Regions from separate parts of the Homo sapiens genome. Here region 2 is linked to region 1. Evidence: promoter capture Hi-C in human tissues and cell types (Jung and others, 2019). All regions are on one chromosome and are shown on one strand. The core of a region is centred on a gene start or on the middle of the fragment in contact, and the rest is flanking DNA. Distances in the headings are between cores, read along the strand shown. Region 1 holds the start of C11orf71 (chromosome 11 open reading frame 71). Region 2 holds the start of CADM1 (cell adhesion molecule 1).

Region 1 (5,683 bases), core at 2,943-5,442:
CTTTTTTTTTTTCAAAGAAATTCTTTAAATAGAGAGAGTGCCTTGTTATGTTGCCTAGGCTAGTCCCAAACTCAAGGCCTCAAGTGGTCCTCCCACCACAGCCTTCCAAGTAGCTGGGACTATACGAATGGGTCACTGCACCTGGTTTTTTCTCCCCAAGAAATTCTAAGAGGGAAAACTTTTTATTTTCCTCTACCTAGGATGCCTTTGAAGACTCCATTAAAGGGGCTGGAAGTGCTTTAAATGCCAACTTTACCAAGAAATGTTTAAACACTGTTAATTAATTTCAGCTGGCAAGAAAGAACACCGGGAGGGTACACTTTTTGCACTATTGCTGGCTCACTATTCCACTTTCTAGTATCTCTTCATATCCATCCACTTCTCTCCAGCTCATGGCACCACCTTAATCTAAACTATCAACCTCATCCATCAATAGCTTCCAACATCAATGCCTTGCTACCAAAAGCTTCCTCACTGCTCTATTTTCACTCTTGCCCCCTCCAATCCATTCTCCCACTGCAACCAAACAACTCTTAAAATATAAACTTGTTCCTATCAGTACCCTACCTAAAACATTTCACTGCCTTCCTACTCCATTTTAGGGTAAAATCTCAAAATCCTGATTATAGTTTAAAAGACCCTCTCCAGCCTATCTACCAAAATCCCCTACTGCTCTCCATTTTCATTCATTATGATCTAGGTACACTGGCTTCTTTCAGTTCCACATTCATCTATATCATCTCCTTCTCTTAAAATTTTCTCAAAGCCCTTTGTACTCTTTCTTTAGAGAACTTATTACAGTAATTGAACAGGTATTCACAAAAATATATATAATATGTGTCTTCATTTAGACTTTAAGCTCCTCTAGATAATACATCATAGTGGCTGGGCTCAATCACACTACACTGCCTGGGTTTGAATCCCAGCCCACTGAACCTGAGCAAGTTAACCTCCATTTTTCATTTCCCTTCATATAAGAGGTAGAGATAAAAATAATCCCTACCCTCATAAAACTGCTGTGAGGAATAAATGAAATCATATATGTAAAAGATATGGTGAAGAACCTGACATATGGCAGGTATTTATTAAATCTTTCTTAAATGACTGTTAAATAGCTTTATGGATATACCGGGAAAAATTGTCCCTGGTAAAATATGAACCTCCCCAAAGCAAATAAAATCATTTAAGTAAATATGATATTTTCTAATACTCAGTACCTGAAGAGATTTTACAAATCATTTAATTCAACTTATTTTCCTTACACATGGGAAGACGGGACTAAAGAAAGGAGACTAGCTCAAGATTACACAATTGATAGATGCAGACCTAGAATCCAATTCTAGGAATTCTTAGTCCAATAGACTGTTGACTAACTGGTATTTTTCAACTGTAAGTAACAACCAATTAATGACTGTAAAATAAATTTTAAAATGTTTTAAATGAAATAGTAATCCAAGTAGTGAGGGTAAATAATGTTTTGAGAAATTTTGTTTCAAGTGTATACATGTACTGTACACATATGTGGGTATGGTTATGTCGCTACAAATCAACAAATAGTTATATACGTATCTATTCTAAGGGGACTATATACAATGTGTTTGTCTATAGAATAGACACATTCTATACCCCTTAGAATAGATACATAACAACAACCCCAAAAGGCAAGTAATAACGGCAGAATGAAGAGATAAGAGAATAATGAAGGAGACTATTTACTCATGTGTTTTGAGGCTATTCCCTATAAGAATTCCTGATAAATGATCTTAACAATAAGTGAGAAATATTACCTGCTAGGAGATGTGGAGGTAGGGCTTGAATTTCCAACATGATGTTGGGGATATGACAAACTGACATCTTGTGGGGCATGACTACTTCCTAAAATGAAACAATTTGAAAAATTATTCTTGATAGAAAATCTAATTTGAAATTTTGTCTTCCCCACTTGAAATCACTCCAAAAAGGTAAACACAATCTAAAAGAGAAAAATCTCAAACTACTGGCCGGGCGCGGTGGCTGACGCCTGTAATCCCAGCACTTTGGGAGGCTGACGTGGGCACATCTCTCGAGGCCAGGAGTTCGAGACCAGCCTGACCAACATGGTGAAACCCCACCTCTACTAAAAATACAAAGAATTAGCCAGGCGTGGTGGCGTGCACCTGTAATCCCAGCTACTCAGGAGGCTAAGGCAGGAGAATCACTTGAACCTGGGAGGCAGAGGTTGCAGTGAGCTGAAATTGCACCACTGCACTCCAGCCTAGGCAACAGGGCAAGACTCCATCTCAAAAAAAAAAAAAAAAAAAAAAAAAAAAAAAAAAAAAAAGAATCTCAAGCTGCTGTAGACCGCTTTACGGCTTCATCGGGGTGAAAATTATAAGTGTATAATATCAGATAAGCAAAACAAAGCACTCCATAAATATCCAATCTGACCATAATTTTCTGATCTCCACCCTAAATTGTAACACTGGATACATGGACAGTTTCATCCTCACATGATCAAGAACCAAAATATATAAAAGTAATTACAAAGCAGCCAGGAGAAGTATTTTCAGAAAATAAACCTAGCTCTTTTCAGAGTACCCAAGCCCAGCTCTCTTAGTGATACAGTTTATGTTTTTTCACTAACCCAAAATGAAACTTTAAGCTCAGTTTTGAAATTCTAATTTCAAAATCCATGTGTCAATGTTACCCGTTTTCAGGGATATATAAAGTTTGCTATATAAAGTTTACTATTCACAATGCTTAAGAAAGAAGTTTCATCTACAAATAAGAGGTTCTTTAAAACTGAATAATAAATTTAAAAACAGCAGGAAACAATGCCCCCCGAACCTCATTGGGCAGTTACCTGATCTAAATTGAATTTTGATAGGCCTTCCATAAAGTTTGATTCCATTAAGTAGATTCATTGCATAAGGAACAGACACTTCATGTTTGAAATTCACAAACGCAAACTGCTTTGGTTTACCATCCTTATCTTTTGGAATTTTCACCTTTATTACTGGCCCAGCCTACAAACAAAAAGGTGTTTAGAATTTAAATAAAGCAACTAAGGGAAAATACTCAAATTTTACAAATAAGATATGACAAAGTTTAAAAACAACAGAAACGTAATCAGAAACTTCTTTTGAAAATGATGCACGGATTTCCATTTTGGCTACAGTAAACATCCTAGTTATGACTGAACATTAGATTTATTTGGGGAAGGGGGCCCATAAGGAACTGGAAACACAATCACTTTTGCAATTCACAGCACTGTATGGCTTAACATAGTGACCAATCGCCATTATTTTGCCACTCCATGAAAATGAACATTTATCAAGAACAAGAGAATGATTTTCTTTAACTAAAAACGGACTTTTGTATTGATTAATCAAACAATACCAGTTATTAGGGGATAGGGATGGGGGGAATAGGATACTCAGAATTTTTCACACTTTTTAATACAGCAACACTAAAATGCTGTTTTTCTACGGAGTACTTAACCATTTTATTTTACATATTTTAATAATGCTGCAATTTGATAAGCAAACTTTAGGGGAAAACAGACACAAATAAATTAAAATATTAAGTTCCCAGTCAGATAAACCAAAGACAAATTATCCTAAGGGGAAGATGACAACAGGAAGGATAAGAAAAAGCACTGCTCAACGAAGACCCTACACACACACTGTGTTCCCAAGGACCCCTGGATCTCTACCACGGGAAACCTGATCGAGGATCCCTCCACCACCTTTAGTCGTCACTTTCGGCCTAAACGAACCAAGATCTTCCAGGAAAGCGACACCCAGCGAGCGTTTCGCAACCCAGACCCGCCTTTCACCCCCAAACAGCCACCCGTCGGGTCCCCTGACGGCTACGAAAAGAAAACGGGGTGGCCGCTGGCCAGGCCCTAGGCGAGACGGAAAACGAAAGGCAAAGGGCCGAACCCAGCCGCTTACCTGGTGGAAAAGCTCGAAAAGGAGCTCCTCGGTCACTTTCGTTTCAAGGTTGCCCACAAAGAGAGTGCGATCCGCTTCCGCCGCCGCCGCCCCCATCTCAGCGTCGCCCCCTCCCTAACCTGGCCAAAAGGTCGTGGCCGACGCACCCACTGCGCATTCACGGAAGCCCCACGTCCTCACGCTCCCTGGCGTCACAAACGAAAACGCCCGTTGCGCTTGCTCTCAGCGGGCGACGACGTGCGCGGACGGTCTGCGCATGCTCGCCAGGATACCCCTCGTTAAAGGCAAGGCGGCTTCTGGCTCTTCCGCAGGCTCAGTTATGGGTTCCTGTGTGCTTAGTCATCGGGTCCGACACAGGCTGGACTGATCTGGGGAGCCGCGAAGGGCCTGCCTTCACAAAGGGACGTAACGCAAGTACTGCGGGCAGTGTTTGAATATGGCCCTGAACAATGTGTCCCTGTCCTCCGGTGATCAGAGGAGCAGGGTGGCCTACCGCTCTTCCCATGGCGACCTCAGACCGCGGGCGTCAGCGTTGGCGATGGTCTCCGGAGACGGCTTCCTCGTTTCCAGGCCTGAAGCGATTCATCTAGGACCTCGGCAGGCGGTGCGACCAAGCGTTCGGGCCGAGAGCCGTCGAGTGGATGGTGGCGGCCGGAGCCCAAGGGAACCAGATGGCCGGGGCCGGAGCCGCCAAGCCAGATTCTCACCTTACCCAATCCCTGCCGTTGAACCCGATCTCCTAAGAAGTGTGCTGCAACAGCGTTTGATTGCATTAGGAGGTGTTATCGCAGCTCGAATTTCAGTTTAAACGAACACCTTTCCTCTGGCCCTCACTTAGCTTGTGAACAGGCCTTTTTAAAATCCTTTCTTGGTGTAGCAGCAATCGTGTTGTTTTATTTTTAGATGGATGTATTTTCATTTAATACGTGGGAGTTATATGAATATGTCCTAGCACTAAGGGAAGTGTAACAGTTGATTGATTTAGGTGGTTTTATGCAGCCAGAACGATTGGATCAGGAAAGGTGTGGAAGGGATATTCTTAGGTCGTCACAAAGCTGAGCTGATGGGAGCACCCTCCCCAGAGGTCAACAATCCATTCGTTAACTCAGACACTTAACCTTTACCTTTACTTCTGTTGGCGAAAAAGAAGTGCTCCTTTTTATTACACTGATTTATCCTTCCATCTTTTCCTTGGCATTTACCATCTTCCATCTCCCCCTTCACTTTTTTCAGATATGTCTACAAACAGACTCCAATCTCAGTCGCACTAAAAATAAGAACAAAACCTAAACCTTACAGTTCTTTCAAATTATTAAATCAATTTATTATTCCTTTCTTTGGCAAAGGTTCCAAATTTTTACTTTATATTTGTAATTTTACTATTTGCATTCAGTCCCAGCGCATTAATCTGAATCTGCTGTCCTAAAATACACTGGTGAAAACATTACTTGTACAATCTCCTATCAGAAAACTGTTCATCTACTCACTGTAGTGCCCTCCTTGAAATGTGTGTTTGTTCATTCAACTAACAATATTTGGGGATCCCTGTAGTAAACACTGTATGAATTTTACACAGTCTGGCCATCAAGAAAGATCACGGAGTATATTCTAGATGGGGAGGCTACTAAGTGAATAGGAATCACCACGCTGGGCTGTTTATTAGGTACAGTAATAAACATAAGTACTGGTTGCAGTGACTTTTTTTTTTTTTTTTTCATCATAATACTGCACTATCCTGGTTCTTCTCT
Region 2 (6,508 bases), core at 612-3,111, 1.1 Mb before region 1:
ACAGGCATCAGTCAGCGTGCCCGGCTGGCCTTAACTTTTTTATTCCAATTTTGGTGGAACTTTGCTCTCTATTTGGTCCGACCCAGGTACCTCACTGCCAGAGGTAGTAAGAACGGGTAGGACTTTGCAGACTGGGCATTATCCTGGCACCCACGTGGCAATGGTTTCCTGTCTCCTGTAGTGCTGTTCTCCTGTTGGAGCTTTCCCCACTTCTGAAGGACTGCCTGCAGTTCATGCATCGGGGCCTGTAATTACAGAGCAGAATATCCAGGGCTGTGAAGACCGGGCAGTCTCGAAATTAGTTTATGCATAATGGATAATAGGAGGCTGTTTTTAAGTGTAACTCATTTGGTGGGTTGGCAGATCATGACTTCCTTTTTGATATGTATTATTTATTTATTTTATAGCAAGATGAGGACAGAAGGCTGGGGAAGTCATTTGGCGCAGCTCTTCTAGACTATAGCTCAGACTTAGCAATTTACATTCAGTAATCTCTTGGTCATTTAGCCACAGATAATTTGTCATGGTTTGTTTTAGCTGTTGTGATATTGATATTTATTATGCAAATTGTATTTCCTACATCTTATTGTTCTGCATTCTATGAATACTTAAATTATTATAAACCTTTACACTTAATATGGCTCGTCCTTCAATTTGATGCTTGAGCAACAGAGGGTCAGAGCGCACACGATCTTCTAGAGGGGAAGAAAATAAGTAATTAAAAAGCAGACAAACAAGAGAGCCGGCTGCCTGGCTGAAAAGAAAGCAAAGAGAATTTCGGGGAGGGAGAGTGAGTCCGGAGATGCAAGTCGCTTTAGCAGGAGAGGCTCTCCCAGAGACAGGGGAAGCTCGGAGCACCTGTTGGTCCCCAGCTTCCTTAGGAAGGGCTGGGGGCGCAGAGGAGGAGTGAGAGGGTTTGAGCCCCGAAGGAGGAACACGGCAGACCCTGCCTTCACCACACTCCCTCTCCCCAACTCCCACCACCCCCGCTCTTCACCTGAAGCCTTGACTAATTTTTTCCGTTGTTGTGTAATCTTAAATATCTAATATTACAAATATTTCACACATATATTCAACACACACCTATATATTAAAACCAGGGAGGAGACCCTCGACAAGCGGAGGAGCCTGAGCATACCCTCCTCGATCTACCTTTCCCGAGATTCTGCCGCAAAAAGACCGACTGGAAAATCTCAGAACCCGACTCTACGGCTGCCTTCTCCAACTATCCCCGAGTCTACCGCTAGGCTGTTGAGCGGGCTCTCCCGCTCCGCCGGACGTGCAAAGCACGCATGCACTTCTCCCAGATTGTTTTGTCAATCCGGGGACCTGCCTTCTTACTCTCCACTCCCGCACAGCCCCCGTTCCCAAAGATCTATTCCTTCGGTGCAAGGTGAGTGACGGAAATTTGCAACGTCTGGTTCGCTAGGCCAGATGCACTCGGTGTGCGGGACAGAGGACCCTCTTAAGGGAGATTCTCCAGTCGTCGGTCTGATACAGCGATTGCTATAAACATTCCTAATAAAGGTGTACAAGAAGCTAGACCCGCCCCCTGGAGCCCGAGTCCTTGCACGCCAGGCGCCCGGGAGAACACTTTTTCCTTGATCCGGGGAAAGCAAAACCCGAATTTTAACATAAACATATTTGCATACGCCCCTCCCCTTGGCCCCGCCCCTAGGTGGCGCGGGCGCGCCGCCGAACGCCAGCGCCAGGGGGCGGGGTGGGGGAGGGAGCGAGGCCCTCCGAGAGCCGGGTTGGGCTCGCGGCGCTGTGATTGGTCTGCCCGGACTCCGCCTCCAGCGCATGTCATTAGCATCTCATTAGCTGTCCGCTCGGGCTCCGGAGGCAGCCAACGCCGCCAGTCTGAGGCAGGTGCCCGACATGGCGAGTGTAGTGCTGCCGAGCGGATCCCAGTGTGCGGCGGCAGCGGCGGCGGCGGCGCCTCCCGGGCTCCGGCTCCGGCTTCTGCTGTTGCTCTTCTCCGCCGCGGCACTGATCCCCACAGGTAGGTGTGGGCACCGACCGGTTGGCCCCTAAATCTCCGAAGGCACCCCAGTAGCCTTGGCCACAGAGGGGGGAAACGTTTCCATGACAACCTCCCCCCACTTCCTACATCCGAAGCGGAGGGAGTGTGGAGAGGAAACTCAGGGCTGAGAGGGAAGGGGCTGAGGGCATCTGTGAGCCCCTTCTCCCCTGCCCGGCTAAGTGTGAATGAGAGTCCCCAGGGATGGCTGCACCCACACCTTCTCTCCCCGGCTTGGCGCGGGGTGCAGAGTGGAGTGAGAATGGGGGGCCCGGGGGCTGTAAAGCATGGGGGAAGGGGATGGTTCAAAGACAACCTCAACCCTTCCGGACCCTTCTAAACTCGCCGTTCTCCCCGTAACTTGCAGGTCCTCCCACCTCCCAGGGCTGTCCATTCGCCCCCACCTCTCCAGAGGGCCCCCCCAGTTCTCCATCCCCGAAGCCTCCTGGTGGCTGACTCCCAGCCGCCCGCGGCGTGATTTCTCCCCGGTCCCCAGGACATCCCCAGACTTGTCTGATCTCCCCTGCCCCTTCCCCCAACGCGCTCTGCCTTTCTCCCCTGTCCCCAAACTGCACGCCTCTCGTGTTTCCCTCCGGCCGTTCGCAGCCCTCCGCCCCCTCGGCTCTGCTGCGGGTCTTTTTGGCCCGGCTCCAGGCGGGGAAAGTTCCCCGGCCCGGCCCCGCGGGGGGGGCGGCCGCTGTCGCCGCCTCTGCGGGAAGGCGCCGGGAGCCCGCAGCCCGCCCGCCCCACAGCGTCCTCTGCCACGAGTGGGGACACGGGATTTCCCGGCTGCCCGTTCTTTCGGCGGCCCGAGGGTGGCGGAGGGGGCGTCGCGGCCTCTGCGGCCAGGCGGGCACCCTGCGGGCCTCCGCGCGCTCCCTGCGTGAAGAGCAGTCTTGGGAATTTGCCCAGGGGCGGCTCTGCACGCCCGGTGCCTTCCCTGAAGACACCGAGCACTCGGCTGGAGCCCGATGTGTGGCTGCCCGTGTGCCGGGCGCGTTGGCGCGGTCGGGAAAGAAGAGGGCAGTGTTTGCTTTTGCTAACAAAAGGGAGCCGGAGCTCTTCCTCAGCGGAGAGGCCGGCTGTGCTGCACCCAGCCTCCCTTCCCGCCACCTCGCCGCGCTTGGCAGCCGCGCGGCGTCCTCTGGCCCCTGCTGCAGGCTCCAGGCGGGCGCCGGGACCGAGTGGCACGGGGCCGCGGGGTGCGAGCGGCGATGCAGGAGGGGATGCAGCAGGGCTCTGAGCCTGCAAAGCCCCTCCTTGCAGCTCCAGAGCTGCAGGACCCGGGAGCAACAAGTGGCGGAGGACGCCGAGAGCTCAGCCCCCACCTGCGGAGCCCCAGGCCCGGGCGGGCACAGCGTTGGGGCCACGGTGCTGCTTCAGGGGCGCCTCTCCGCTTGGGCTGTGCCTTTTGTTTACACGCTAGAGGACACACAGTTATGTAAACACCGCAGGAGACACGCTGTAGGAGACGGGGGATGTGTGGGGGTGCTAGCTTGAGATTTGGGGGACGCCGGGTTGGCTGCTTGCCCCCAAAATAGGCTTGCAAAGGAGCTCGGCTTGGGAAACCTATTGGGGGGCGTCTGGCAGCAGCGTCAATTCCAGCGCTGAGGGTTTTTTTCCTCCATGCCACTGTCTCCGGATGTTGTTTATGTGTTTTTCCTCTGTGAATTCTTAATTTATGAGTTACGAGATAATTGGGTTCAGCCGATGCCGGTGTGGTTACAACTTCATTTCAGGTGATGCCTCTGACTGGATGGGTTCAATAAAATGTTCCTGAAAGAGATCCCTCGTGCTGCTGCATTGTAAAAAGCGCCAGTGTCAGTTAAACGTGAGCGTGAGTAAAGGCTCGGTAACTGGCGCATAATAGAGGCAACAATAGACTTGTATTGGCTGCAAAAAAAAAAAAAAAAAAAAAAAAAAAAGCCGGGGGGCGGTGGAAAGCTGTGGTCGGGGATATTGCTTTTTGACTAAAAATGGGAGTCGTGCAATGACGCTTGGCAGCAGAAGTAGGATTAGATTATGCCTCCCCTGTCAAGACTGCTCATTGAAGGCACCGGGTAGTAGCAACGGTACTATATTTGTAACTATCTCGCGGTGAGAAGTTGCCTTCCCTGCGAGGGATATATGCTGACTTAGGAGCGGTCTGGAACTCAACCGTGCATGTCAAAGCTACATGAAAATTCTGTTGCCAGTTACCATGGAAGCAGCTTCTTGCTCTTGTGTACATCCCTGTTTGTATGCTGGTTATCAGATTGTGTTCAAATTAGAAAGTAATTGGGTATGATTTGTAGTGAGGAGATGAGATGACTTTCTTAATTTTTTTCTCTTAATGCATATATATATATTTCGTGGTGAGTTTGAGAGGAGGTCTTGGCTCATTCCGGGGTCCCATACCCCAGGGGTAAATTTCAGGTGGGCACCAAGGGACTTTTCCTCCTCAGTTCTGTTTAAGCTTTCTCAGAGGCCTCCAGTTCCCACTCCCAGGGTTAAAGAAACCTGTTGGTGCATCTGACTTCATTAGGCTTGTTTCGTTTACATCCTTGCTGGGAAAGCGAATTAGGACCATCGTGCGTGGGTCCTGGTTCTGTTTTCTCCTGTAACTGAAGCCATCCATCCCCCGCAGAAAATCTCCTCTCATTTCTCCTGTGATGTTTGGATGAAATGGATGTTAATGAAATGCAGTAAAAATGGGTTTGCTTAAGCTCACTCCACAGTGTTAATCACGCCTGTTATACGTTCAAGGTGCATGCATGATGTTGTTTACGATCCCGAGTGAACCAGTAGCTGATCACCCCCCTCTTATCATTTTCAGGATTAGAGAAGATGGCTGGTGGATGGGGGATTTATGGTGGTGATGGGAAGGAGGGGGGCTGACTTTTGCTTGCTTTGGCCTGTTGGGGCTTGCAAACCGGGGATAGAGACTTTACAAAAGTGCCGCCCTGTTATTGTTGCCTTTCCCTGCATCAGATTGAATAGCCGCAGTAGGGACTTGCACTTGTCTGTGATAGATTTGATAAAATATCCCTCATTAATGCCACTTTATATTTACAGTGTGTCACTGGAGACGCACAAGGCTTCATTTAGTGACTTGTGTGACGAGACAAGCTTGCATTATTTGCCTGGGACGTTTTGGAGGAACAAGAGACCCATTGAGCAATCTTTTGAAATGAACAAATACGAAAAAGGGGGGGAATAAAAGAGCAGGCAGTTCTCTGGAACAAAGAGCTTTATTCATATGGATGTTGTACATGCTTTATCCAGTTTTCCCCAATGGCCCTCCTGGTAAAGGGGAGTGGGACAGGGAAGACGCCAACAGGCAGGACACTTTCGTTTCCTCTCTCACTTCCTGACTTCATATTCTTATCGGAGTTGGTCCCCGGCTCACTGCCTGCTCATCTCTCTCCACACTCTCTAAAATCCCAGAAGGTAACGGATTCCTGGGTCTCCACAGAGAGATTGTGAAATCCTTTCTTCCAGCTCTAAATTTCAACAGAAGACAATGCTAGCTACCTGTTGAGGTTGATGTTGTTGGAGGATATATTGGTTGAAGGGAAAGAGATGTCACTTTTCTATGACATGTGTCAAGAAGTGGTTGATAGTGAATGTCAGATTGGTAAGATGTCTTGCAATTATAACATTAGCCTTATTATTTATTTGGAAAGAAATGCTGTGAAAACCAGCATCCAAAAATTGTATTCTTATTGATGGTGCTCTTGGAGTTTTTAGTGACTTTTTCCCACACCTGGTACATTTTAGTCTCATACATAAGTGAATTTTTATTATTCCTTGGCCTATATTGCTAAATGATTTTTAGGCTTTAAAAATTGATAAGATTGCTATGAATATAAACTGTCTCATTCTCTTGGGATTTCTGTACGTGACATTTTAATGCCTAATTGGTCACTTAGAATTTACATTTTAGAAATGATTTTGTGTGTGTGTGTGTGTCTGTTTTTAGCAAAAGGTGCATTTTAATGTGGGGATTCTCTTAAATTGGGCCAAACTAATCAATGCTATAATTTGAATGGAAATTTACCAGCAGATGAAGAAAATTCAAAATAAATCCAAAGGATTCAAATGCTGTACGTTTTTCTTGGGAAGAATAGTTTTGACCATTATGCTGGGCATTTTTAACTGAAAATCCAGCACAGAAAGGAGAAATCACACAGCGACATCTGTTGCAGAATTGAAAATTTGCTGCTTTGAGTTGGAAGCAATTAGTCCCATATAAGCACCTAATGGTATCAGTGTGTGTGTGTTTGTGTGTATGTATAAGTAGTGATACAAATACATACATATACATACTTATATATACATATATATGCACAGGATACAAAAACTTGCCCACATACAATATTCATATTCACATTAAAAATTATGTAATAGAAAATGTAACATTTTGGGACTAAAGCTGTTTTTAAAAATATTACCTTTTGAGGAATTAGAGATTCTTATAATCATGGAATTTTTGAGAGGGGAAAG

What was found. Contacts are between HindIII fragments. The study calls those that stand out against the background at their distance.
Region 2: a contact is called between the fragment with the promoter of CADM1 here and the fragment with the promoter of C11orf71 in region 1, in 1 of the 25 tissues and cell types used here (hippocampus).

The regions. Positions count from the first base shown.
Region 1 is chr11:114,399,020-114,404,702 of GRCh38, reverse strand. C11orf71 (chromosome 11 open reading frame 71) reads left to right here and starts at 4,192. Exons shown (of 1, transcript NM_001271562.2): 1 at 4,192-5,683. The coding sequence starts at 4,372. The coding sequence ends at 4,743. It overlaps RBM7 (RNA binding motif protein 7), which reads right to left and starts at 4,037. Exons shown (of 5, transcript NM_001286045.2): 1 at 3,936-4,037; 2 at 2,843-3,005; 3 at 1,788-1,875. The coding sequence starts at 4,031. RefSeq lists enhancers at 3,865-4,407, 4,305-4,694, 4,408-4,950. The HindIII fragment of the contact is 14,324 bases long and covers 1-5,683 here.
Region 2 is chr11:115,499,768-115,506,275 of GRCh38, reverse strand. CADM1 (cell adhesion molecule 1) reads left to right here and starts at 1,861. Exons shown (of 12, transcript NM_001301043.2): 1 at 1,861-2,005. The coding sequence starts at 1,882. RefSeq lists a silencer at 1,676-1,835. The HindIII fragment of the contact is 7,329 bases long and covers 1-4,805 here.